Regions from separate parts of the Homo sapiens genome. Here all the other regions are linked to region 4. Evidence: promoter capture Hi-C in 16 types of primary human blood cells and fetal thymus (Javierre and others, 2016). All regions are on one chromosome and are shown on one strand. Each heading gives the region's core, a stretch centred on a gene start or on the middle of the fragment in contact. The rest is flanking DNA. Distances are from core to core; before and after follow the strand shown. Region 1 has its middle 80 kb from the start of HNRNPD. Region 2 overlaps HNRNPD (heterogeneous nuclear ribonucleoprotein D). Region 3 has its middle 32 kb from the start of HNRNPD. Region 4 holds the start of RASGEF1B (RasGEF domain family member 1B). Region 5 overlaps LOC105377308 (a long non-coding RNA gene). Region 6 overlaps LOC105377308 (a long non-coding RNA gene). Region 7 has its middle 140 kb from the start of HNRNPD.

Region 1 (3,923 bases), core at 296-2,795, 820 kb after region 4:
GCCAACCCAGAGGCTCAACCCCTTCAGCAGGACTATAGTACGAGTGTTTTTGCATCAGATGGTACATGGTATCTGATTATATCTCCTTTTGAGATGTTAGCAGCTATCGATACTCATTGCTAGGCCCAAGAGCCACTAATTTATAAGGGATTGCAAAATGGTAATAATCTAGTTTTGTATTCACAGACAAAATTAGCTGAAATGATTTTAAAAAGAGATACTTTCCTTATTTGCTGTTTGCTTACCTGTGTTCTACATTCTAATTTGAATCTTTTGAAGACCTTTTTTTCTGAACTCCAGACTCGTATACCCACTTGTTCCACTCTGCTTGAATGTCTAATTAAAGTATCTCAAACATATCCAAAGCTAAGCCTCTTCCAGAAGTCTTCCACATATCACTTTTCTAGTTCCTCAGGCCTAAAACCTATAGTATTCTTGACTCTTGTCTCTTTTATATTGAAATCCAATCCATGGGCAAATCCCATTGCCTGTCCTCTCCAAATAGTAACCAAGCCACCATCATCTCCTGCCTTGATCACTCAATACAAAGCCATCTTTCTCATTTTGTTTCTGATTTCTAATGGTTACTTTTTTCTTTGTTTTTTAAACGGAGTCTCGCTCTGTCGCCAGGCTGGAGTGCAGTGGTGCAATCTTGGCTCACTGCAACCTCTACCTCCCAAGTTCAAGCGATTCTCCTGCCTCAGCCTCCCAAGTAGCTGGGATTACAGGTGCGCGCCACCATGCCCAGCAATTTTTGTATTTTTAGTAGACATGGTTTCACCATGTTTGCCAGGATGGTCTCGATCTCTTGACCCTGTGATCCGCCCACCTCGGCCTCCCAAAGTGCTGGGATTACAGGCGTGACCCACCGTGCCCGGACCTAATGGTTACTTTTTTTAAAAGTTTCATTAATAACATTTTTATTATGCAAAATATATATGCAGTACCAAAGTCAAATCTACAAAACAGTTCCTTCGAGAAGTCTAATTTGCATTCTGTTCCTCTCCTTACTACTCTTTCCCCCTATGTAGGTAACCATTTTGAACAAGTTTTTGGTTTATCTTTTTTTCTTTTCTTTTTTCCTATAAGAAATACATTCTATAAGAATACATTAGCCGGGTATAATGGTGCACACCTGCAGTCCCAGCTACTTGGGAGGCTGAGGTGGGAGGATGGCTTAAGCTCGGGAGGTGGAGGTTGCAGTGAGCAGAGATTACACCATTGCACTCCAGCCTGGGTGAGAGAGCCAGACCCTGTCTCAAAAAAAAGAACACAATATAGAGTACATACAGTAGCCCTCCCTTATCTGAGGGGGATACATTCCAAGACCCCCAGTCTTGTGGATACCTGAAACCACAGATGGTACCAAACCCTATAAAATATACTGTGTGTTTTTATACATATATGATAACATTTAATGTATAAATTAGGTACAATAAGAAATTAACAACAATAATAATAAAATAGAGCAATTATAACAATATTCTGTAACAAAAGTTATGTAAATGTCATCTTTCTTTCTCTCTCTCACAAAAACATCTCATTGCATTTTACTCACCTATTTTTGGACTGCGGTTGACCATGAGTAACAGAAACCACAGAAAGTGAAGCCACAAATAAGAGACTACTGTATGTACATTTGAACTTCCCTTATGGTAGCGTATGATGTGATAGATAAATGATAGCACATCATGCACACTTTTCTCCACCTGGCTTTTGTCAATTAATGATATCTCCTGAACATCAGATATTCAAGTTGTTTTTAAGATTATAGATGCTTTCTGAATATTACTCATAGTATTAATAACATACTAAGCATAAATTTAAAATATCTCTTTTTCACATGCAGTATCAATTTACTTCAAATTACATGTGTAACTTTCAGATAGATGGTACAATTAGCAACTCTTTTTCAGCGGACTCCACCAAATTTTTAAATAAAAATGTTTTCTAGGTGGAGATTATGTGTATAAATCAATATAATCATTAAAAACATTTGTAGCATATTGTATTCATGATATGATGTGAAGGATTTACACTGAAAGGGTTCATATGTTAAATTTTCTGCCTCTGAAATTATCTTTTCTTCCTGTTTCTGAGTTTCCTCATTCTCATATATATTCAATTTAGCATTTGACCATGTCTGTTGCCTGTTAACCATTTAGAGATAGTATTCACAAAGACTAAAGTCTAGGCACCAAGCAACTATTTTTGTTGCATATTCCTGCATTTTCTGGATTGTTGGGCAGTAAAGGATGGAGGCACTTTCCAAGGGGATTCTAGCCCCTACTGTGGGACTCTGAGAAGGCAGAAAGGTCTAGATGGTTGAGTGGTCATGCTAAGGTTCATTTTAACATACTGTGGTTCACTTTAACATTCATTCCTCCCTCCCCAACTCATCCTGAATATTTGGTATTTGCAGTTTACAAATTTTTAATTCTAATGTATAGAAAACCAAGATGTACCAAAATTAAATATGTCTACCTAAAATATAGACATACTAAAATTCAATGAACATAGTATTTTCTGTGTTTGTTTTTGTTTTACAGGCAGAGTCCCACACTTTCGCCTGGGCAGGAGTGCAATGGCGCAATCTTGGCTCACTGCAACCTCCACTTCCTGGGTTCAAGCGATTCTTCTGCCTCAGCCTCCCGAGTAGCTGGGATTGCAGGTGCCCGCCACCACACCTGGCTAATTTTTTGTATTTTTAGTAGAAACAGGGTTTCACTATGTTGGCCAGGCTGGTCTTGAACTCCTGACCTCGTGATGCACCCGCCTCAGCCTCCCAAAGTTCTGGGATTACAGGTATGAGCCACCGCATCCAGCCAAACATAGCATTTTCTATTTAGTCAGAATCTTGATTCAGTCTTAGAATGTGAGTGACTTCAAATATAGATATATATATAGGCCAGGCGTGGTGGCTCACACCTGTAATCCCAGCACTTTGGGAGGCCATGGGAGGCAGATCACTTGAGGCCAGGAGTTCGAGACCAGCCTGGCCAACATAGTGAAACCCTGTCTCTACTAAAAATACAAAAATTATCTAGGCATGGTGGCACATGCCTGTAATCCCAGCTACTCGGGAGGCTGAGGTAGGAGAATTGCTTGAACCCGGGAGGCAGGGGTTGCAGTGAGCCAAGATTGCACCACTGCACTCCAGCCTGGGCGACAGAGTGAGACTCCATCTCAAAAAATAAAATATATATATATACCAAATTATTAGTTTTCTCTTTGATTTATTTTTATTGATGCAATTTTAAATACATATTTAAATTCTACAGATTTCACTTAACATAATTTACTTCAATTTTTCAAATATATGAGAGGTCTTCTAATTATTATGCTTCTTTGTTTTTGGTTTTTTTATTTTTGTTTGAGACAGGGTCTCACTCTGTCGCCCAGGCTGGAGTACAGTGGCGTGATCATGGCTCGCTGCAGTCTCAACCTCCTGGCTCAATCAATCCTCCCACCTTAGCCCCCCAGGTAGCTGGAAATACAGTGTGGCGTGCACCACCATGCCCAGCTAATTTTTTTGTATTTTTTGTAGAAATGGGGTCTTGCTATGTTGCCCAGGCCAATCTTCAACTCCTGGGCTCAAGCAATCCTCCCACCTCAGCCTCCCAAAGTGCTGAGATTATAGGCATGAGCCACTGCACCCATCCAATTATTCTGATTATAAAAAGTTATCTATATAGTTCTTAATACCACTAATGAAAGCTTGAAAAATGAGGTTAAATTCTCTGTGTGGGTACTTCTTTAATATTATCATGTTTTCTTTTCAAAGCTATGTTTGCCATACTGTCTTTATTGATGGAATCACTTATGTATGTGCTACAGACAATGCTTTGGATTCTGTGACACCATCTGCATTTCTTAAAAACGTAAGTAATTTTATTGTACTGTAAGGACTTTTTGAGTTACTG
Region 2 (3,491 bases), core at 700-3,199, 890 kb after region 4:
TTCCCCATCAATAAACTTATTCTCTGGACTATTTAGGTCACTAGGTTTTTAACATTCCCAGTCAATATTAACTATTTTATTCCAAGATACCTCCCCTAATAAGTCTTTATTGTCAAACACCTTATTCAAGGTAAAAAGTTAGCCATTATACTCACTCCCAATTTTGGAATAGTATTCTTTTTCTATGTTCTATAACTTCGTATTATTTTTACTTTTTTAGAGACGAGATCTTGCTCTGTTACCCAGGCTAGTCACAGAACTCCTGGACATAGCGATCAGCCTCCCAAAGTGCTAGGATTACAGGCATGAGCCACCACACCCAGCCAATCCTTTAACTTTTAAACACTTCCTAACAACTTATGATCTTACATACATGGCTTTATAACAAGTTCTGACAGTTTAAAAAATACAACAGAATGTCAACCTGATATACATTTCAGGTATAAAACATAAATGACCAATCACTGTCATCTTTTAAAGTAATGTTACTCAAGCACACCATTAAATCCTTACTGAATTTTTCCAGTATTTTATCCATCATAATTATTCTTCTAAAATCCTAAAATGACAAACTAAAGCTAAGTCACTAGTTACCTAAGGGGAAGGGAGGAGGTTACAATGCAACTAGATAATATCACACGTTAGGGTATTTTACAAGTTGTATGAAAACTACCTTGGGAGAGAGCTTGACAAGCTTTCATCGAGTTCAAATACTAACCAGCCTTTTTAGATCTGATCTGGTATAAAATTCATGAAAACCACTTTTTTGAGACAGAGTCTCGCTCTATTGCCAGGCTGTGGTGCAATGGTGTGATCCTGGCTCACTTCAACCTCTGCCTCCCAAGTTCAAGCAATCTTCCCATCTCAAGCTCCTGGGTAGCTGAGACTATGGGTGCACACCACGAGGCCCAGCTAATTTTTTTTTTTTTTTTTTTTTTTTGTAGAGACAGGATCTCATCATGTTGCCCAGGCTGGTCTGGAACTCCTGGGTTCAATCTGCCCACCTCAGCCTCCCAAAGTGCTATATTACAAGCGTGAGCCACCGCACCCAGCCCACTTTTTTTAACTATTTAAAACTAATGAGACATTAAGGTTAGCCAATAACAAATCTTCCCCAAAAAACACTTTAGTCAATAAAAATATAAATTTTGGTATTATTTCCCCATCATTAAAGAATAGGTATTCCTCTCCCCCAGCTTTCTACAGATGACATTTTCAAGGTAAGTGTGAAAAAGAATTCCATTTATTCAAGACTAATATACAATGGACCAAACATTTTCAGAGACTTCTCTGTATTAAATCTCATTACTTCACACTTTAGAATGAACCTAACTAAATGACTACTAAAAAGCGAAGTTGAAAAAATAAACATCTAATAAATGAAACATGACAGTTTTTTTGGGAGGGGGACAGAGTCTCGCTTTGTCGCCCAGGCTGGAGTGCGGTGGCGCGATCTTGGCTCACTGCAACCTCTGCTTCCCGGGTTCAAGCTCTTCTCCTGCCTCAGCCTCCCAAGTAGATGGGACTACAGATGCCCACCATCATGCCCGGCTAATTTCTGTATTTTTAGTAGAGACAGGGTTTCAACATGTTGGCCAGGTTGGTCTCGAACTCCTGACCTCAGGTGATTCGCTTGCGTCAGCCTCCCAAAGTGCTGGGATGACAGGCATAAGCCACCGCGCCCGGCCAACATGACAGTTTTTTAAATAAACTTTTTTTTTCTTTTTTTGAGACGGAGTCTTGCTCTGTTGCCCAAGCTGGAATGCAGTGGTGCAACCTTGTCTCACTGCAACCTCCGCCTCCAGGGTTCAAGTGATTCTCCCGCCTCAGCCTCCTGAGTGACTACAGGCGCATGTAACCACACCTGGCTAATTTTTGTATTTTTAGTAGAGCTGGGGTTTCGCCATGTTGGCCAGGCTGGTCTCCAATTCCTGACCTTAGGTGATCCACCCATCTTGGCCTCCCAAAGTGCTGAGATTACAGGTGTGAGCCACTACGCCTGGCCTAAAAATAAAACACTTTAAGAGACCAGGTCTCACTATCAAAATGCAGTGGCTCCATCATAGCTTCCTGCAGCCCTGAGCTCCTTCCTGGGCTCAACACATTCTCCTGCCTCTGCCTCCTGAGTAGATGTAACTACAACTACAAACACACCCCCCAACACACTAGCCTTTTTTTTTTTTTTTTTTTTAAAGAAACAGGGGTCATATTATGTTGCCTAGCTGGTCTAGAAATCCTGGCATGAAATGATCCTCATACCTCAAGACTTCTGAGTAGCCAGTGATTACAGGCACGAGCCACTACTTTAATTAACTTTAAATGCTTAATCCAATACCTCCTTTTCACTTCACTACAAGGAAGCAATGACATCTTGTATGTTTACGTTTTAAATAAGCTCTCAATCAGCTTTGTAAGGTAAACTCCCATTTACCTAGAGGTTAAGGAATAGGTATTTTCCTTAACCTGAAGGTTAAGGTTCTGGTTAACTGAGATTACTACATATTCACAATTCTATAAAACTGTGTACTGGAAATCAATTTAGGTATCAATGCTGAAGTCAGAAAATGATTTGTACCTTGATGAATTTTCCAACGTTTTAAAATCATGTTACTTTTCAAAAGTGTAAGGAAAAATCTGTAGGAGATTCATTCCATGACATTGTCTGTTGGTTGCTTTTTGAGTATATTTTCTCATGGCTTCATCTATCTTGCTCATAAGACTAAATGGGGAGACAGACTTCCTGGCTGTGTGGGCTCTGTGGTAGTCTGAAGTCTAGATAAGCAGGAGTTTACAGTGCAAGACCCAATACTTAAACTGTCACCTTGATTACTGGCCAAGCACCACCAGTAAATTGGAGTCTTCCCTCCCCACCCCCAAATATTCTTAAATACCTAGCTCCAACGTACAATATAATACTCCAGAAACTAAAACATGCTTACCTTTACTCCACAGGAGTAAATCACTGGCAGTATCAACTATTAGGGCACTGGATAAATACACACAAGCTATGAAAGCAGGCTATGTAGTCAATCCTCCTGTGGTGAGCATTGTTTCCAACACATAGATCAGCAAACCAAGTAACAAACATGTCGTATTACCTGAAACCACACTGTTGGAAGTGAAGCAACAGAAAGAGATCCCACGCTTTCAGCATCCAGTTCAGTGCCCTATCTACTAAAACGTTGAAGCAGAACTGAAGTCAAATCAAGCTTGGACTAACATAAGTTATGTTTCACCCATTTGTAAATGTGCACACACTTGAGGTACACAGCTTCCAAGTGGAATGGGAAAAAAAATTACTCTATTCCTTTTTAAATGCTTTCAAGCATGGTATGTATTATGACTTGAAGGCTAAAACTAATCACATCCTTCACGTTGGCATAAATAGTATACTCAATATGTATACTCAAATGTATACTCAATAGTATACTCAAAATGTTCTCGTATTAGGGCAGCCTTACCCTAATATTATGTATTAGGACGATAGCAGA
Region 3 (3,829 bases), core at 1,223-3,722, 870 kb after region 4:
GAATTTTAACATCAGTACAGTTCAGAGATACACATTCACCTCTTCTACAGTTTTTTCATTTGAAATGAAAATTCAAACTATCATGTTTTATACTATGTATTTCCTTGTGTAAGGATTAAAAAATTAGTAAGTCATATCATTTTCTCTAACAAATCATAGAGAGAGGACATAGGTCCTCTCCTCCTATCTCACCATCCTAACAGCCTTTAAAAAAATACACTTCCTCCAGTAACCTCAACTTATTAAGATTTCAAATAACTAAAGCATCCAACTTTACTTTGCAGTTAGTAACAAGGCGTCATGGGTTCTGTTTCCCAAGTGGGAAACTGAGGTCTGAAGTCTGTTTTATAAGTCCCTTAGTGATTCCTGAGGAACAGACATCCTGACTTCAGGATAACTCATTTTAATTCTGGTAATGATCAAATACCAGCATTTTAAATAGCCACCAAGCTCATTATTCCTCCAATGCAATACCACCTTTCCATTCACAAAATATTTTTTAAAGGATCTTAAATGTTAGAAACTTTGGAGTTTCTGTAGTTCAGACTCAGGAAAAAATAGGCGATATGTTGACTGCTTACTCTGATACAATGTACTAAGTATCTTGGAAGAGGGGTGTCTCATTTAATTTTACAATAATACTATTAAGCGAGTATCACATAAAGCACACAGAACAGTGGCTGGCATAAAAGTGCTGTGTAAGTTAGTTCATATTATCAGCTTTATTTTGCAGATGAGAAAATAGCAAAGTTAAATGGCATGTTCAAGGTCACACAGCTGGAAAGCTAAGATTTTACTGACTGCTAAGATAAGCCCTACTGTGGCATATAGCCATGGAACCCATAGAGTAATAATTAAGATCCCTTAATTATGGGTCAGACAAGATACATCGTATTATTTCACTTCTTGTCAGTTTAGTAGGTTGTTTTGGCAGGGTAGAGACAAGAGTAGTTGGAAGAGGAATAGTCATGTATTTTGCTGCTGTTATTTTCGAAGCCCTATAAAACTTGCCCCTTAACATCTCTGTAAAGTAAAATTATGTATAAAACATATTTGTATCCTGATCACCAGTTAGTAGCATAATTATTGCTAGAGAACTGTGAACTTAAAGATCACCTAATCTAACCTCTTGCACTTTACATGTTAGGATATCAAGACCAAAAGTCTAAGTGAATTATGTGTCTTTGAGATTTTCTCTTCACTGGTAGCATGCTTAAAGCACAGGCTATCACCCTGGTTCCAAGCAAGAAGTCCTACATAATACTTGTTTTCTAAGGCAGTCTTTAGAGTTTAAGAGTTTTCAAGATAATTTATATTTTTATGGGCTGTCGAATGCTGCCTAGTAAGGATTGTTTCCCTGGTATTTATGCTAGAACTGTCAGAACATAGCTTGGCAGAAACAAATATTAAGTGATCTTGGATTTTTCATCTATTTATGCTTTCAAATAGTATTGAGCTCCTACTCTGCACCAAAACAATTCTAAAACATTATGGTTTATCCTAAGCTACTACATAGATAGAAATAACTGATGTTTGAAAAAATAGAATGATGTTTGTATATAGACATGTAAGACCTGGTCAGGCTCAGTGGCTCACACCTGTAATCCCAGCACTTTGGGAGGCCGAGGCAGGCAGATCACCTGAGGTCAGGAGTTCAAGACCAGCCTGGCCAACATGGAAAACCCTGTCTCTACTGAAAATACAAAATAAAAATTAGCTGGGCGTGGTGGCAGACACCTGTATTCCCAGCTACTCGGGAGGCTGAGGCAGGAAGAATTACTTGAACCTGGGAGGCGGAGGTTGCAGTGAGCTGAGATTGCGCCACTACACTCCAGCCTGGGCAACAGAGTGAGACTCCATCTCAAAAAATAAAAATAAAAAACCCTAAGGCCTATCTCTAATCCTTTAGGAAAGCTTACATTCCAGTTGAAGGAAGAAGTCCAACAAATATCATAAACAGGTTAAAGCAACAGCATCAATATTTAAGTGGTACATTGCATGGCAGAGAATAAGTTAAGAGATGATGATCAACACAGGCTCAAATCACTGAGGAAGATTCCATTGGTTGTAAGTGGGATAGGAATTGGATCTTATTAGAAATCGAATTTATTTCTACCATGAAGTGTCATAAATCGAATTTATATCAATAGGTAAAGGCAGTGCAGTTAACAATAACAATTAACTTATTGAGCACTTGTGTTCCAGTAACTGTTGTAAGTACTTTAGAAATCCTTCTTTAATTCTCACAACCCTGATGTAGGCACTACTGTTATTTCCATTTTACACATGAGAAAACAGAAGCATAAATGCCCAAGTCTACTGCACTAGTAAGAGGAACAGCTTGCTGTGGGGGTGCACAAGGTGGACTATGCATTGGTGGTGTTCAATTATGTTATCTTTCAGTCATTCAAGTGGCCTGCAGCAGAACTCTGTCTTGGGTTCTCTTCATTTCCCACTCTGCAACGTGCTCTTATTCACTCCCATGCTGTTGCTCTCTCCAGATCTAACCCCTCTTCTGAATTCCAAATCATTTCCCAATTCTCTACTAGATATACCCACTTGGATACCACGCAAACACTTAAGTTTAGATCCCCAAACTATACATTCTTCCATTCCCCCACAAAACCTGCTTATTTGACTTGATTTCCAATCTCAATAAATGGGATCACAGCTATCCTGTAATCTACAAACTCTTAGCCTACCTTGACTCCTCCCTTCTGCTCATCTTCTCTTTCCTAATTAGTCACCAAAATCATAGGGCTTCTGTGTCAAATCTCCTGAAGGTTCATCAGCCAAGGAAGTCCAGAAGAGCTGCAGAAGCAAAAGTAGGGAGTTCCCTGAGGGTGCCGAGGCAAACTTCGAGAAAGGGTACTCCTTCTATCATGGTTGATGGCTGTCTCTACTCCCGAGCCTGGCCACATCACACTCCTCTTTGTATTCAGTATGCCCAGCACATGTAAGTATTAACATTTGGTATTTTCAGATGCATGATTTCCATAGCTCTTAAACATGGTTAATATCAACAAATGTGAAGCTTTGGTTTTCAATTCTCAGCATCAGAGTCACCTAATGATCTTAATAATACATGTTCCTCGGCTCCACCCCTGAGGATTCTGCATAAGCCTGGGATGGGGCCTCAAAATGTTTGTTTAACCTCACAATGAGGCCGAGAACTGCTAACCTCAAGCACTTTTACATGACTATCATTTAATGTCCATTCCTAAGAAAGGTAATATAATTTTACACTTGGAAAAACTGAGGCTTGGAGATGGTTAATTTACCCAATATCACTGGGCAAATGACAGAGCTGGGCCACAAAAGCATTCATTTGAAATAATCTATTCCACTGAATGTATTAAACTAGAAACTTTTAAAAATCTGCTAAATAGAATGCCCCACATATTTTAATAAGTCTAAAAAGGATTATTTTAAGTTGTTTTGAAAGTTTATATTATCCCACTATAGGATCAAGGCCTCTCAGAGAATCTCACAGAATCATGGCAGAACCTAGAATAACAAAAACCATTAAATTCTGGCCTCTGATTTATTTATGTATTTATTTTTACGAAGTCTCACTCTTTTCCCTCAGGCTGGAGTGCGATGGCGCGATTTTGGCTCACTGCAACCTCCGCCTCCCGGGTTCAAGTGATTCTCCTGCCTTGGCCCCCCAAGTAACTGGGATTACCGGCACCTGCCACCACGCCCAGCTAATTTTTTTTTTTTTTTTTTTTTTTTTCAGTTGAGATGGGGTTTCACCATGTTGGCCAGGCTGGTCTAGAACTCCTGACCTCAGGTGATCCACCCACCTCAGCCTCCCAAAGTGCTGGGA
Region 4 (3,658 bases), core at 303-2,802:
CCATGGTCCAACTATGTTTTAAATTAAGGCATAGCCATCACATGCCAAGCTCTAGCTACTGTTTTCACGAGGAAAGGGCAATTATTCACCCCATCTGAGTGTGACTGTGCCAGACATCATTCAAGAGTGCACCACCCTGATCCCTAGACTCTTCCCCTTTATGCACCCAGTTCAGAGACCCTCCCTTCGGCCATTAGACCATCTGAGCTAAATATAGATCTACACACACCAGCAGTTCCTGACCGTCGTCACATGGTGCTGACGAAGGACTCCTTGGAGACGCGTTCGGCCCAAACACATACACAAATTTGTGTGCATATTCATCTATATACACCATATCCACCGAATTCATCAGGGAGGATGGACACATCTACATTCCGAAGAGAAAATCGCCGTCTAGACAATCTCCTTGTGTTATCTGCCACACTTGTGCCACCCTCGGCAGTGTCAGAGGATTAAGCTACGTTGCTTTTGCCTGAACTGCGCCGATTTGGTTGGGGCAAGACAGCAAGCAGTATTGAAATGGTACGTCCATACACACACACAAAGGCGCGCGCACCCCAGCCCCCGTCTCGCCCTTTTCCCTGGTGCAGCACTTAAGTTGTTTTCACAGCTCCCTTAGAAAGAACCTCCCTTAAGCTGACTGCCCGCGAGGCTCCTAGATACCTCTAGCTCATCTGAGATTCCCCAGGCAGGTGACCCGAGGCGACTCAACTGAGCTCTGGCAAAAGCAAGGCGACTCAGTGTCTCCCAAGTTTGCCAGGTGAACACCGAAGGATGACAGCACATCACCTTGTCGGTGGCGAGTATGTGACTTCTGTTCCCTTGTCCCTTCCTACGAGTCAGACTTTAGATTACATGGCACTGACAACAAAAATAAACAGCTCCCCCTACACACACACGCACACAAAACTGGTCAAGAAGTGGAAGAATCAACCTAGGTATGCACACGAAGGAAAGAAGGGATGAAAAAAATGATGGACGCGATTACAACTCAAGACAAATCCTCAAAAACCACCTATCTCGAGACAGAAGGCCTGGCTGCAGGATCAGGGAGAAAGAGGGAAGGCACAACCCAACCCAACCCAAGCCTGGCCCTGCCCGGGTCCCAGCGGCTCGGCCTCGCACCTGTTGGGGCCGCGGCAGTCCCAGGTACCCGCAGCGGCCGGGCAGGGGCCCTCCCCCGGTCCCGGGCTGTAACTCGGCTCTTGGCGCCCGCGTTCGCGCTCACTCGCCTCGGGATCTCCCGCCGCCTCGGAGCGCACCCGGCAGCCGGTGAAGTCTCTGAGCCCCGCTCGCTCCCCGCGCGGCCCAGGGATCTCCAGGGAGAGCGCAGCGCGCAGTAGGGTCCGGAGTTCCCGCTCCGGGCTGTGGTCCCCCAGCCGGGAGAACAACCCAGCCAGGGAACAACCTACCTGCAGGTGAACTCCGAGTCCTCGGCCTCCCGGCTGCGTGCCGCGCGCCCACAAATGCGACCAAAGGACAGGGAGCTAAAGCGCGCGGGAAGAAGAAAAACAAAATCTGTCTAACCAGTCGGGTTCCTTGTTTATACTGAAACTACGGCAGCCGCCGCCGCGCACGCCCCCCTTGGCTCAGGCGCCTGCCTCCCGCTGCCAGCCCCGCCCCGCCCCGGCAGGCGCGGGCCAATCACCGCGCAGCTCACCGCCCACGCCGCCGCCACCCGGCCCGGCAGGCAAGTCCCAGTGGGCCCCAGACTCCCGCAGCGCGTCAGCCTGGGTGCCCTCCCACGCGGCAGAGGCCCGCGGAGCCCAGCGCAGCGGTGTTTAACAGCGTTGGTCAGGCTGGCTCCGACTGTGCGCGTTTCCTCTTGAGTGCACCTGCCCCGGGCTGTTGTGCAGTCGTGAGTGTGTGTGTGTTCATTCACGTGTATACTATCTGTAAATACCGGCCCGACTCGTTACACAGTATTTATTAACATAATTGTGAGCTAAAGGTTACTGTCCATGTAACTTTCAGAAGAGAGCGGAGAGGAACCACAGAACATTTGCTTAGCAAATAACACATAGATCCTGGTGCTAAGCACTGTGCAAAACGCTGGGGGCACACTTGGCAAAGTAGGCTGGTCTCTGCCATTGTGAAACTTACATAGTCTAGTGGAGGACAGACATTCAGCAAATAATCACCCAAACAAAATGTAGAATTACAGCTGCTAGAAGTTGCACGGAGAGGAACCTGTTCCGTGAAACATGATTCCGGAGGCAAAGCAGGGAGGCTAGTCCTCAGTGAGGGCTGTGTTGTCATGGTAACCACGTACTCACTCCATCATGGGATATTTGATAACTATTTCAGAAAAAAGGTAAAAACCTCCGTACTTCACTTTGTACACATAAAAGGAGGCCAGAGGGAAATAATGATGGAAACAAGGGAAGAAAGAGACCTATGAAAAGAAAAAATTTACAGAATTAGGAGACTCTTACCAACTGTATTTCCTTGAGTAAGTGATACAGCTTTTCTGAGCTTCAGTTTTCTCATATATAAAACAACACTATTCATACCTGTCCTATACTGTTATAATTAAGATTACTGAGGGGGAGGAATCCTTTTCCCTCCTGCTCCATGGGTCCCTCCCCCTCTCCTTCCTGGGGTGGAGTCATTTTGACGCTCACTTTGTCTATTCTTAGCGGATTCCTCTTTCATTTTCTTCATTTATGCCTCCTTTTACTTTTCTTCCTCTTTATGATACTCCTTCCCTCCTTTGTGTAAATAGGACTCCTCTGATTCAGTAATTCACTCTAACCTACTTGAGCCTTTGACTTAACCATAGCTTCTCTGCAGTTTAAATGAGAAGCCATAAGGCCAAGGGAACTTGGTGGGCCAGCCATGCAGAGTGAAACACAGAGGCTGGGTGGCCCTGCCCTGCTGTTGTGGTTGTACTGGTTGGTTGATTTTTCAAGCTCAGTTTTTGCATCCCGATTCTGTAACAAACGAGCCATATGACATTGGGCCAGTCACTTACACCCTTGACATTACTGATCCTGTAGCCAGAAATTAAGAGTTGCAGGGGATTGCTGGCAAGATGGCTGAATAGGAACAGCTCCAGTCTGCAGCTCGTAGCGAGATTCACACAGAAAGCATGTGACTTCTGCATTTCCAACTGAGGTACCCAGTTCATCTCACTGGGACTGGTTGGACAGTGGGTGCAGCCCACGGGGAGTGAGCTGAAGCACGGTGGGGCATCGCCTCACCCGAGAAGTGCAAGGGGTTGGGGAATTTTCTCCTCTACCCAAGGGAAACCATGAGGGACTGAGCCTGAGGAACTCCAGCACAGATACTGTGCTTGTGCCAGTTTTCGCAACCCACAAACCAGGAGATTCCTTCCAGTGCCTACCCCACCAGGGCCCTGGGTTTCAAGCACAAAACTGGGTGGCCATTTGGGCAGACACCGAACTAGCTACAGGAGTTCTTTTTTTTTCCATACCCCAGTGGCGCCTGGAACACCAGCGAGACAGAACCGTTCACTCTCCTAGAAAGGGTTGCTGAAGCCAGGGAGCCAAGTGGTCTGGCTCAGCCGGTCCCACCCCAATGGAGCCCAGCAAACTAAGATCCACTGGCTTGAAATTCTCACTGCCAGCACAGCAGCAGTCTGAGATCAACCCAGGACACTCGAGCTTGGTGGGAGGAGGGGCATCCACCATTG
Region 5 (3,565 bases), core at 292-2,791, 780 kb after region 4:
ATAGCAATTTGAGACTCATTATCACTCATTAAAAAACAAGCTCTTGGCCAGGCGCAGTGGCTCACGCCTGTAATCCCAGCACTTTGGGAGGCCGAGGAGGGCGGATCACTTGAAGCTAGGAATTCAAGACCAGCCTGGCCAACATGGTGAAACCCAATCTCTACTAAAAATACAAAAATTAGGCCAGGCATAGTGGCTCACGCCTGTAATCCCAGCACTTTGGGAGGTCGAGGCGGGTGGATCACAAGGTCAAGTGTTCATGACCAGCCTGATCAACATGGTGAAACTCTGTCTCTACTAAAAATACAAAACTAAGCCGGGCGTGGTGGTGCGTGCTTGTAATCCCAGCTACTCAGGAGGCTGAGGCAGGAGAATAGCTTGAACCTGGGAGGTGGAGGTTGCAGTGAGCCAAGATCACACCAGTACACCCCAGTCTGGGCAACAGAGCGAGACTCCATTAAAAAAAAAAAAATAGCTGGGAGTGGTGGCACATGCCTGTAATCCCAGCTACTCAGGAGGATGAGGCAGGAGAATCACTTCAACCCAGGAAGCAGAGGTTGCAGTGAGCCAAGATCATGCCACTGCACTCCAGCCTGGGCGACAGAGCAAGACTCCTTCTCAGAAAAAAAAAAAAAAAACAAAAACCTCTTCTTTAAAAGATGAAAATTCTTCATTTTTCTCCTTTAACTCTGAACCACTTAGGGTTCAGTACAAGAAACAGAAACCACTCAAGGCATTTTAAGCAAAAAGAGATTTAATATAGAGAATTGGGTTTTTACAAAATCACAGAGCGAGCTCTAGGCTTCCAAAAGTCCAGCATAGGTAAATGCACAGAGACAGAAAGTAGGTAAGTGGTTGCCTAGGGATGGGGGCAGAGGATGGGACATAGGGGTTATGAGTGTGATGGGGGAGATGAGGAGTGACTGCTAAAAGAGTACATAGTTTATTGGAACATAGGCCTGTTCATTCATTTATGTATTGCCTATGGCCGCATTCACATTGCAATGGGAGACCTGAGTAATTACAACAGAGGCTGTATGACCCTCAAAGCCTAAAGTATGTACTATTTTGTCCTTTAAGAAAAAGTTTGAGAAATAAAATGTGGCACATATACACCATGGAATACTATGCAGCCATAAAAAATGATGAGTTCATGTCCTTTGTAGGGACATGGATGAAATTGGAAATCATCATTCTCGGTAAACTATCGCAAGGACAAAAAACCAAACACCGCATGTTCTCACTCATAGGTGGGAATTGAACAATGAGAACACATGGACACAGGAAGGGGAACATCACACTCCAGGGACTGTTGTGGGGTGGGGGGAGTGGGGAGGGATAGCATTAGGAGATATACCTAATGCTAAATGACAAGTTAATGGGTGCAGCACACCAGCATGGCACATGTATACATATGTAACTAACCTGCACATTGTGCACATGTACCCTAAAACTTAAAGTATAATAATAATAAAATAAAGAAAGAAAAAAAAAAAGAAAAGAAAAAGTTTGCCGGCCAGGTGCGGTGGCTTACACCTGTAATCCCAACAGTCTGGAAGGCAGAGGCAGGTGGATCATCTGAGGTCAGGAGTTCGAGACCAGCCTGGCCAACATGGTGAAACCCCGTCTCTACTAAAAATACAAAAAAAATAGCCAGGTGTGGTGGCAGGCGCCTGTAATCCCAGCTACTCGGGAGGCTGAGGCAGGAGAATTGCTTGAACCCGACAGGCAGAGGTTGCAGTGAGCCAAGATCGTGCCATTGCACTGTAGCCTGGGTGACAAAAGCGAGACTCCTCTTCAAAAAAATAAAAATAAAAAAGTTTGCCAACCCCAGCTTTTATTCAAAGATGCAGCGTTGAACTGTCAGGAATAAATATGTAAACTTTCACCTTCTCTTCCTTGAAATAAACCTAAAGGAGCACCCAGGACACAGAATGAGATGCTGGGAAAGCAAGTCCTCACCAAGCTGTTTCTCACTAAGAACTGTAAAAATTCAGAATGGTCCACCTTGTAAATTGGTATTTCCCAGTGTGCTTCTTGCTTCTTGCTTTAAATATTCTAATCTATGATAGATAAACAATAGTTTTATTTTCAAATGGCAATATTTATATATGCCAGAAATTACATCCTTTGCAACTATTTAAACTTATGATGATTAATTTTAGATGTCAACTCTAAAATGTATGTGGAATACATAGCTATTTTTGTGTTTGTTTTTTTCAAAATGCTTGAAGAGAGCATGCAAGCAAAAATGTTGAAAGATCACTGGCTGAAAGAAGAAAGTCCATCTTTGATTTTGGCAAGAGTTTCAGGTGAATGTATAACCTCCCTCCACCCCAACTAGAATTGCCCTAATGATTAGCTTTTTTTGTAATTTATTAAGGTACCTGGTGTCTTTGTTCATTTGCTGTATCACCTTATAGAAGTTTGCAGAAGTAAAGCTCTACATACAAGCTATTTGGGTATGGACACACATGTGAAAAGGAAACTAACATCTACTGAGCATCTGCCACTTGCCAGACCCTCTACATAAATTCTCTTATTAATTCCTCACAATTTTACTTTGAGGTACATGTTATTATTATGTTAATCTCATGTTATAGCCTAAAAAAGATACTAAGTGATTTCAGGTAATATACTCAAAACCATATAACTAGTAAACAACAGAACTAGCATAGAAACCCAAGACTGACACTAAAGCCCATGTATCTTCCATTCTCTGCTCCGCCTAATTCAACTTTCTGATTCCTCAGTTCTACATAGACATGTATCTGAGTCCATGACAAGCAAGTACTCTGGAACCTATGATGGTACTACTTAGTCCCTAACAGTCCCTGACACTTAGCTCCCCTATCATTATTTTTTAAATTTAGAAAAATAAATGTTTTTAGACAGAGTCTCACTGCCACCCAGGCTGAAGTGCAGTGGCATGATCACAGCTCACTGCAGCCTCGACCTCCCAGGCTTAAGCAATCCCCTCATCTCAGCCTCCCGAGTTGCTGGGATTACAGACACATAACATCACACCTGGATAATTTTTGTGTTTTTAGTGGAGATGGGGTTTCACCATGTTGCCCAGGCTGATCTCAAACTCCTGGGCTCAAGCAATTTGCCCACCTCAGCCTCCCAAAGGGCTGGGATTACAAGTGTGAGCCACTGCACCAAGCCTAAAAAAATTTTTTGATAGCGACAGAGTCTTGCTATGTTTCCCAGGCTGGTCTCAAACTTCAAGGCTCAAACGATCCTCCCATCTTGGCCTCCCAAAGTGCTAGGGTTACAGGCAGAGCCACTGCACCTGGCAAGTTCCCCTATAATCATTGTTTGGAAAAATATTCAAACCACCTAAGTACCAGTAGGTGACTGGCACCAGCCAGTCCAAACAAAACCCAGTCTAAAGATGGGGACAGGGCCACCTGTGTTTACCAGTTGACTATCAACCCTGCCTAAAAGCATAGCATCTTCCAAAAAGCTGAAAAGGATGAACTTGCCCAACCATCTCATTGTTTTCAGATAAGGATGCTAAGGACTCAGAGATTAATGCCCTACTAAATGTCACACCATCAGT
Region 6 (3,779 bases), core at 733-3,232, 800 kb after region 4:
TTTATGCTTTATATGCCTTAGCTCATTTTATGAATTAGGCACAGAGATGAGCCTAAGGAACAAAGTGTAGTTCAGAGATGCAAAGTAAGGATTCAAATCCAGGTATGCTTGATGCCAAAGTCCCTTCAGTGTCTTCTTACTACGCTACCTTGAATCATTATCCAGTTTCCACAAATACTGTTACCTGAGGTTTCCTCCACTGGTTGCTAAGCATAGTGGAAAAGACTAATATGACAGTCAGCAATAGTATCCTATGTCATGTTCATGCTGAGCAAAGCTCTTTGAGCTCTATGGGAAGCCGCTGGCCTTAAGGAAATTAAAATATAATGGAGCACGGACTATATGCAAATAATTAAATATAGCTAATAGATTTTCTACATGCCAAAATTAGCCAGTTTGAAAACCTTATGGAGAACAAATTCCATTAACAAGAACAGCCAAAATATCCCAGAATAAATGTAACAAAAATTTGTCAAGCCTTTATGAAAAAGATCATAGGAAGTCAGTAGAATAAACAGAAAGACAACTCATGTTTCTAGATGGGAAGACTCAATGACTGAATATTGTAAATATATTAATTATCTCCAAATTGTTAAATGTAAAGTCATTTAAGCTACAATTACCGAATCATTGTGATATTAGCACAGAAATGAGCACAGAAATCAACCCTAAAGTCCAATGAACAATATATATATATAGAACAATATACAATATATATAAAGTCATATATATATATAAAGTCATATATATATATGGGACTTTAACCTACGGTAAAAGTGGCATTTCAAATTACTGTGGAAGCCAGATGCAGTGGTTCATGCCTATAATTTCAGCTAGTTGGGAGGCTGAGATGGAAGGATGGAGCCAGGAGTTCGAGGCTGTAGTGAGTGATGATAACCCCACTGCACTGCAGCCTGGGTGATAAGAGTGAGACCCCATCCCTCAAAAAAAAAAAATGAGTGGGGAAAGGATATTCAGTAAGTCTTATAAAATAGTTGGCAGTAGGATTCTGTGGCAAGATGGCCAAATAGGAACAGCTCCGGTCTGCAGCTCCCAGTGAGATCAACACAGAAGGCAGGTGATTTCTGCATTTCCAACTGAGGTACCTGGTTCATCTCATTGGGACTGGTTGGACAGTGGGTGCAGCCCACAGAGGGTGAGCCAAAGCACAGTGGGGCATCGCCTCACCCGGGAAGTGCAAGGGATCGGGGAATTTTCTCCCCCACCTAAAGGAAGCCGTGAGGGACTGAGCCTGAGGAACGCCGGCACAGATACTATGCTTGTCCCACTGTTTTCACAACCTGCAAACCAGGAGATTCCCTCCGGTGCCCACCCCACGAGGGCCCTGGGTTTCAAGCACAAAACTGGGTGGCCATTTGGGCAGACACCGAACTAGCTACAGGAGTTCTTTTTTTCCATACCCCAGTGTTACCTGGAATGCTAGAAAGACAGAACCGCTGACTCCACTGGAAAGGGGTGCTGAAGCCAGGGAGCCAAGTGATCTGGCTAAACAGGCCCCACTCCCACGGAGCCCAGCAAACTAAGATCCACGGGCTTGAAATTCTCGCCGCTAGCACAGCAGCAGTCTGAGATCAACCTGGGATGTTCCAGCTTGGTGAGGGGAGGGGTGCCTGCCATTGCTGAGGCTTGAGTAGGTGGTTTTACACTCACAGTGTAAACAAAGCTGCTGGGAAGTTCAAACTGGGTGGAGCCCACAGCAGCTCAGCAAGGCTGCTGTGGCCAGACTGCCAGATTTCCCTTCTCTGAGCAGGGCATCTCTGAAAAAAAGGCAGCAGACCCAGTCAGGGACTTATAGATAAAACCCCCATCTCCCTGGGGACAGAGCACCTGGGGAAAGGGGCAGCTGTGGGCAAAGCTTCAGCAGACTTAAACGTCCCTGCCTGATGGCTCTGAAGAGAGCAGCGGACCTCTCAGCAGAGCGTTCAAGCTCTGCTAAGGGTCAGACTGCCTCCTCAAGTACGTCCCTGACCCCCATGTATCCTGACTGGGGGACACCTCCCAGTAGGGGCCGACAGACACCTCACACAGGAGAGCACTGGCTGGCATCTGACAGGTGCCCCTCTGGAACAAAGCTTCCAGAGGAAAGATCATGCGGCAAAATTTGCTGTTCTGCAGCCTCCGCTGTTGATACCCAGGCAAACAGGTTTGGGAGTGGACCTCCAGCAAACTCCAGCAGATGGGCAGCAGGGGGCCTGTCAGAAGGAAAACTAACAAACAGAAAGAAATAGCATGTCCACTCAAAGACTCCATCCAAAGGTCACCAACATCAAAGACCAAAGGTAGATAAATCCACAAAGATGGGCAGAAACCAGTGCAAAAGGCTGAAAATTCCAAAAACCAGAACGCCTCTTCTCCTCCAAAGGATCACATCTCCTCGCCAGCAAGGGAACAAAACTGGACAGAGAATGAGTTTGACAAATTGACAGAAGTAGTTTTCAGAAGGTGGGTAATAACAAACTCCTCTGAGCTGAAGGAGCATGTTCTAACCCAATGCAAGGAAGCTAAGAACCTTGAAAAAAGGTTAGACAAATGGCTAACTAGAATAACCAGTGTAGAGAAGAACACAAATGACCTGAGGGAGCTAAAAAACACAGCACGACAACTTCGTGAAACATACACACGTTTCAATAGCTGAATCAATCAAACAAAAGAAAGGATATCAGAGATTGAAGATCAACTTAATGAAATAAAGAGAGAAGACAAGATTCGAGAAAAAAGAATAAAAAGGAACGAACACAGCCTCCAAGAAATATAAGACTACGTGAAAACATCAAATCTATGTTTGACTGGTGTACCTGAAGGTGACGAGGAGAATGGAACCAAGTTGGAAAACACTCTGCAGGATATTATCCAGGAGAACTTCCCCAACCTAGCAAGACAAGCCAACATTCAAATTCAGGAAATACAGAGAACACCACTAAAATACTCCTTGAGAAGAGCAACCCCAAGACACATAATTGCCTGATTCACCAAGGTTGAAATGAAGGAAAAAATGGTAAGGGCAGCCAGAGAGAAAGGTAGAGTTACCCACACAGGGAAGCTCATCAGACTAATAGCAGATCTCTGCAGAAACCCTACAAGCCAGAATAGAGTGGGGGCCAATATTCAACATTCTTAAAGGAAAAAATTTTCAACCCAGAATTTCATATTCAGCCAAACTAAGCTTCATAAGCGAAGGAGAAATAAAATCCTTTACAGACAAGCAAATGCTGAGAGATTTTGTCACCACCAGGCCTGCCTTACAAGAGCTCCTGAAGGAAGCACTAAACATGGAAAGGAACAACTGGTAGCAACCACTGCAAAAACATATCAAATTGTAAAGAACATCGACACTATGAAGAAACTGCATCAATTAATGGGCAAAACAACCAGTTAGCATCATAATGACAGGATCAAATTCACACATAACAATATTAACCTTAAGTGTAAACAGGCTAAATGTCCCAATTAAAAGACACAGACTGGCAAGTTGGATAAAGAGTCAAGACCCATCAGTGTGCTATATTCAGAAGACCCAGCTCACATGCAAAGACACACATAGGCTCAAAATAAAGGGATGGAGGAATATTTACCAAGCAAATGGAAAGCAAAAAAAAAAGCAAGGGTTGCAATCCCAGTCTCTGATAAAACAGACTTTAAACCAACAAAGATCAAAGAGACAAAGAAGGGCATTACATAATGGTAAAGGAATCAATGCAGCAAGAATAGCTAACTATCCTAAATATATATGCACCCAGTACAAGAGCACCCAGATTCAT
Region 7 (3,564 bases), core at 915-3,414, 760 kb after region 4:
GAGAGGATCCCTTGAGTCTGGGAGTTTGAGACCAGCCTGGGCAACATAGTGACACTCAACCTCTACAAAAAAAATTTAAAAATTAGCCAGTCATGGTTGTGCATACCTGTAGTCCCAGCTACTCAGGAGATTGAGGAGGGGGGGATTAACGGAGCCCAGGAGTTCAAGGCTGCAGTGAGCAATGATCATGCCACTGCACTCCAGTCTGGCCAACAGAGCATGACCCTGTCTCAAAAAAAAAAAAAAAGACTTTTTTTTAAATGTTTAAATAAAGCAAATAAAGAATAATTAAAATAAATTGACATTGATTCAATGAAAAGAAAAGAAAATTACTATATTGTTTTTCCCCGTGAAGCATTTTCCCTGCCCTTTCAAGTTTTTTTAAGAATACCAAAAGTATCAAAATGAGCAAGAGGTTATAATTTATAATTATATGACTCATGCACAACACTAAAATGTTTCCATAGTACCACTAGGACAGATTTGGAAGCCAGCCTTGAAGTGGTTAGAAGTGCACTGAAAATCTGTATTTGAAAAGTTCTAATGGTTTCTAGAATCAGAGTTTTCACAAGTAAACCCTTGCCCTATAGATAAATTAGATTTTAAATGAATAAGTGGTAATAATACATGAAGTAGTCATATGAATATTATCAAACACTATTGACTATACACATCAAATGTAGAAGTAAATGAGGAAAAATGGTGACTTCATCAAAGCTTATTTTGAATTTCAATTTTCTTCATATTTGGTTAAGGTGTAAGTGGCCTGAGGAACGACAATAAGTTCTACAGCCTTAGGCTTCCAGGCTATTCTCAGGACTTCTCCTTGAGTCTGTGTTGAGAAAGCAAAAGACAAACTCATGAAGGTCACCCTCTGGCAAAGTCTCCCTATCTTCTTAAATAAATTTCACCAGTGACTAGAAGTAATATTGAATGGCTTGGTCTTAATAAGAAATTCAAAGAATATTCTTCCGTTGATTAACTAAAAAGGAACAAGGGATTTTCTGCCATAGTAATATTCACCATGCAACACCTGGAAGCAGCCACATTCACCAAGACACAGAAGCCTAGAGAATGAGGGTCAAGGCTGCACCTGTTGCAACATCTACTTGACTTCCTACTCCCATTTAGGGTGCTGGCCCATAAAATGGGTAGTTGCTATGGGACTGACAGATAGGAGCAGAGTAATCCAGGAGGTACATGGATAGTCTTAACTAAGAATGTGACTATTAGGAGCCTAGTGGTAGGGCTTGGATACCTAAAAATCAAGTTGCTACTAGGCTAGATGCCCTCGGAAATGGTCAAGTCAACTATAATAATAATTGGAGTGCCTACCATCTGACAGACTCTTTGCAAACATTATTAATAAAACAACTCCACAAGATCAGAATGATTGTCCCCATCTTGCAAATTAGGAAACTGAAGGTCAAGAAATTAAGTCATTTACCAAGTACATGTAGTTAGTACAGTGCAGAAAAAGCATAACCCAAATAGGCCAGTCTGACATCCAAGTCCATGTACCAGACTTCCTCACAAACCCACTTACCTGAAGCGTAGAACTGCAAACGTATCTTTATGCATCCATGCGAACTTTTTATACACTTGGATCTGTTTTATGTGTACAGTCTTTAGAAACAAAAACACAGAAATCATCTAAGATGGTGGTCATATTTTACATAGTACATATCAAGACATTATCTGAGAAATTATTTTGTGTCAATTTCTGGATGTAATATCCAATCTGTATGATACAATGTAGATTACACCACAATGGAATTTTTGATGGTGTTCATAGAACAAAAAGAAGGAAATTTTAAATCACTCCAGAAAATAAAGGATAGATAAATAAATAACTATGAGACAGAGTCCCTACTTATAAGATACTTTCACACAGAGGGGGCAAGGCATAAAAAAATTAAATTAAAAAAATACTAAATAGCATGTAAGTCAGCTAGCTTTCAACTGCACTTAACATAAGAGCCAATTAAATGTAGCAATTAAGATAAGAGCCAATTAAACTAAGGTGTTGCATTTCCAATTCTAGCAACATGGATGACTAAGTACTATGGCTAACACTACCATTGTAAACAATAGACAACACTGAATAAAATATTTTTAGTCTTCTAAATGACAAGCTGAGTATTCCAATTAGTAATAAATATTCAGAGCGAAAAAAACACTTGGTGGAAATGGTGACCAGAGAGGAAGAACACAGAAGCTGCCTTTCACCTTGAAGGATTCACTGAACTGTATGAAGCTGAGCCATGAGAGTTTCAAGGCCTCACAGGCTGATTTGGCTTGGCTTTCTGTCCCCACGCAAATCTCATGTCGAATTGGAGGAGGGGTCTGGTGGGAAGTGATTGAATCATGGGGGTGGATTTCCCTTTTGCTGTTCTTGTGATAGTGAGTGAGTTCTCACAAGATCTGATGGTTTAAAAGTGTGTGACACTTTCCCCTTGTTCTCTGTCTCTCTCCTGCCACCATGTGAAGAAGGTCCTTTCTTCCCCTTTGCCTTCCGCCATGATTGTAAGTTTTCTGAGGCCTCCCAGTCATGCTTTCTGTAAACCTGTGGAACTGCGAGTCAATTAAACCTCTTTTCTTCATAAATTACCCGGTCTCCAGTAATTCTTCATATCAGTGTGAGACTGGACTAACACACAGGCCATAGAGGATAGAAGTCAATGACAAGCCATCCCAAGAAGTGAGGCACATAGAAGATGGTCCCACACAGAGCAGGAACTGCCTATCCCCAAAGAAACTACACCCTCAAAATTCATGTGGAGTAGAAAAACAAAACCAGATCTCCAAAAGGGAAATTTCAATCCTGGTGTTAAATATCAACCCTGAGAATTTTTGTATCTACAAGTTGGCCCTCATAGCAGCCCAAATTCCTACCTAAAAAATTCAACTTCACTCAGAATTTAAAATAGCCCCAGGCTGGTGATACCTGCAGTTACCTGATACAAGGGCAAATCCTCCATGATGTAAGCTACCTTCAGCCTAAACTAAAAGGAATGATCACAGATAAGTTCAAAAAAATATGAGTTCATAATACATACAAAAGAGATACAGAACACATACAGGAACAACATATGCTAGAGGCAGAAAGAGCAGTTCGCAGAATCAGATCTGCAAGACCTCAGCTATTAGAATACTCTGATGCATCTTGCTATAAGTATAATACAACATAGTATAATATAAAGAATAAATGAAGGCATTGAAAACATAAGAGCACCACACTATAAAAATCTCCAAGTAGATTTGAAAAAACTGTATCATAGTTGACAAAAGAATTAGTGAACTAGAAGATGAATCTGAAAAAAAATTATCCACAATAGAAAACAGAGTCAAAAAGATGAAAAATATGAAATAAAATTGAGTCATGGAAGAAAGAATGAAAGGGACTAAAAATAAACCTCTAATAGGAGAGTTTTTTTAAGGGAGAGGAGAGAGAGTAGAGGCAATATTTGAAGATATAATAGCTAAGAATTTTCCAGAACTGATAAAAAGATACCAATCCACAGATTCGAGAATTCCAATGAATTTCAAACAAGATATATAAAA

Evidence for each region. The method cuts DNA at HindIII sites, captures the fragments that hold promoters and counts their contacts. A CHiCAGO score of 5 or more calls a contact.
Region 1: a fragment that was not itself captured here is called in contact with the fragment with the promoter of RASGEF1B in region 4 in 7 of 17 cell types (neutrophils, naive B cells, naive CD4 T cells and 4 more); the score reaches 10.3 in neutrophils.
Region 2: a fragment that was not itself captured here is called in contact with the fragment with the promoter of RASGEF1B in region 4 in 2 of 17 cell types (naive B cells and M2 macrophages); the score reaches 7.6 in naive B cells.
Region 3: a contact is called between a fragment that was not itself captured here and the fragment with the promoter of RASGEF1B in region 4, in 1 of 17 cell types (total B cells). The highest score is 5.9, in total B cells.
Region 5: a contact is called between a fragment that was not itself captured here and the fragment with the promoter of RASGEF1B in region 4, in 1 of 17 cell types (erythroblasts). The highest score is 6.5, in erythroblasts.
Region 6: a contact is called between a fragment that was not itself captured here and the fragment with the promoter of RASGEF1B in region 4, in 1 of 17 cell types (total B cells). The highest score is 5.8, in total B cells.
Region 7: a fragment that was not itself captured here is called in contact with the fragment with the promoter of RASGEF1B in region 4 in 8 of 17 cell types (endothelial precursors, total CD4 T cells, monocytes and 5 more); the score reaches 6.8 in endothelial precursors.

What each region holds. Positions count from the first base shown.
Region 1 is chr4:82,291,907-82,295,829 of GRCh38, forward strand. It overlaps the pseudogene VAMP9P. Among named protein-coding and RNA genes, the nearest start is that of HNRNPD, 80 kb to the right of the region's middle. RefSeq lists a silencer at 1,507-1,707. The HindIII fragment of the contact is 4,339 bases long and covers 1-3,715 here.
Region 2 is chr4:82,364,856-82,368,346 of GRCh38, forward strand. The region is part of intron 2 of HNRNPD (heterogeneous nuclear ribonucleoprotein D); the gene reads right to left. Among named protein-coding and RNA genes, the nearest start is that of HNRNPD, 7.4 kb to the right of the region's middle. RefSeq lists an enhancer at 1,015-1,686. The HindIII fragment of the contact is 2,515 bases long and covers 693-3,207 here.
Region 3 is chr4:82,340,417-82,344,245 of GRCh38, forward strand. No RefSeq gene overlaps it. Among named protein-coding and RNA genes, the nearest start is that of HNRNPD, 32 kb to the right of the region's middle. The HindIII fragment of the contact is 1,120 bases long and covers 1,913-3,032 here.
Region 4 is chr4:81,470,355-81,474,012 of GRCh38, forward strand. RASGEF1B (RasGEF domain family member 1B) reads right to left here and starts at 1,553. Exons shown (of 14, transcript NM_152545.3): 1 at 1,416-1,553. RefSeq lists a silencer at 1,485-1,894. The HindIII fragment of the contact is 14,883 bases long and covers 1-3,658 here.
Region 5 is chr4:82,250,684-82,254,248 of GRCh38, forward strand. The region is part of intron 1 of LOC105377308 (a long non-coding RNA gene); the gene reads right to left. Among named protein-coding and RNA genes, the nearest start is that of HNRNPD, 120 kb to the right of the region's middle. The HindIII fragment of the contact is 8,771 bases long and covers 1-3,565 here.
Region 6 is chr4:82,270,468-82,274,246 of GRCh38, forward strand. The region is part of intron 1 of LOC105377308 (a long non-coding RNA gene); the gene reads right to left. Among named protein-coding and RNA genes, the nearest start is that of HNRNPD, 100 kb to the right of the region's middle. The HindIII fragment of the contact is 217 bases long and covers 1,875-2,091 here.
Region 7 is chr4:82,232,609-82,236,172 of GRCh38, forward strand. No RefSeq gene overlaps it. Among named protein-coding and RNA genes, the nearest start is that of HNRNPD, 140 kb to the right of the region's middle. The HindIII fragment of the contact is 2,899 bases long and covers 716-3,564 here.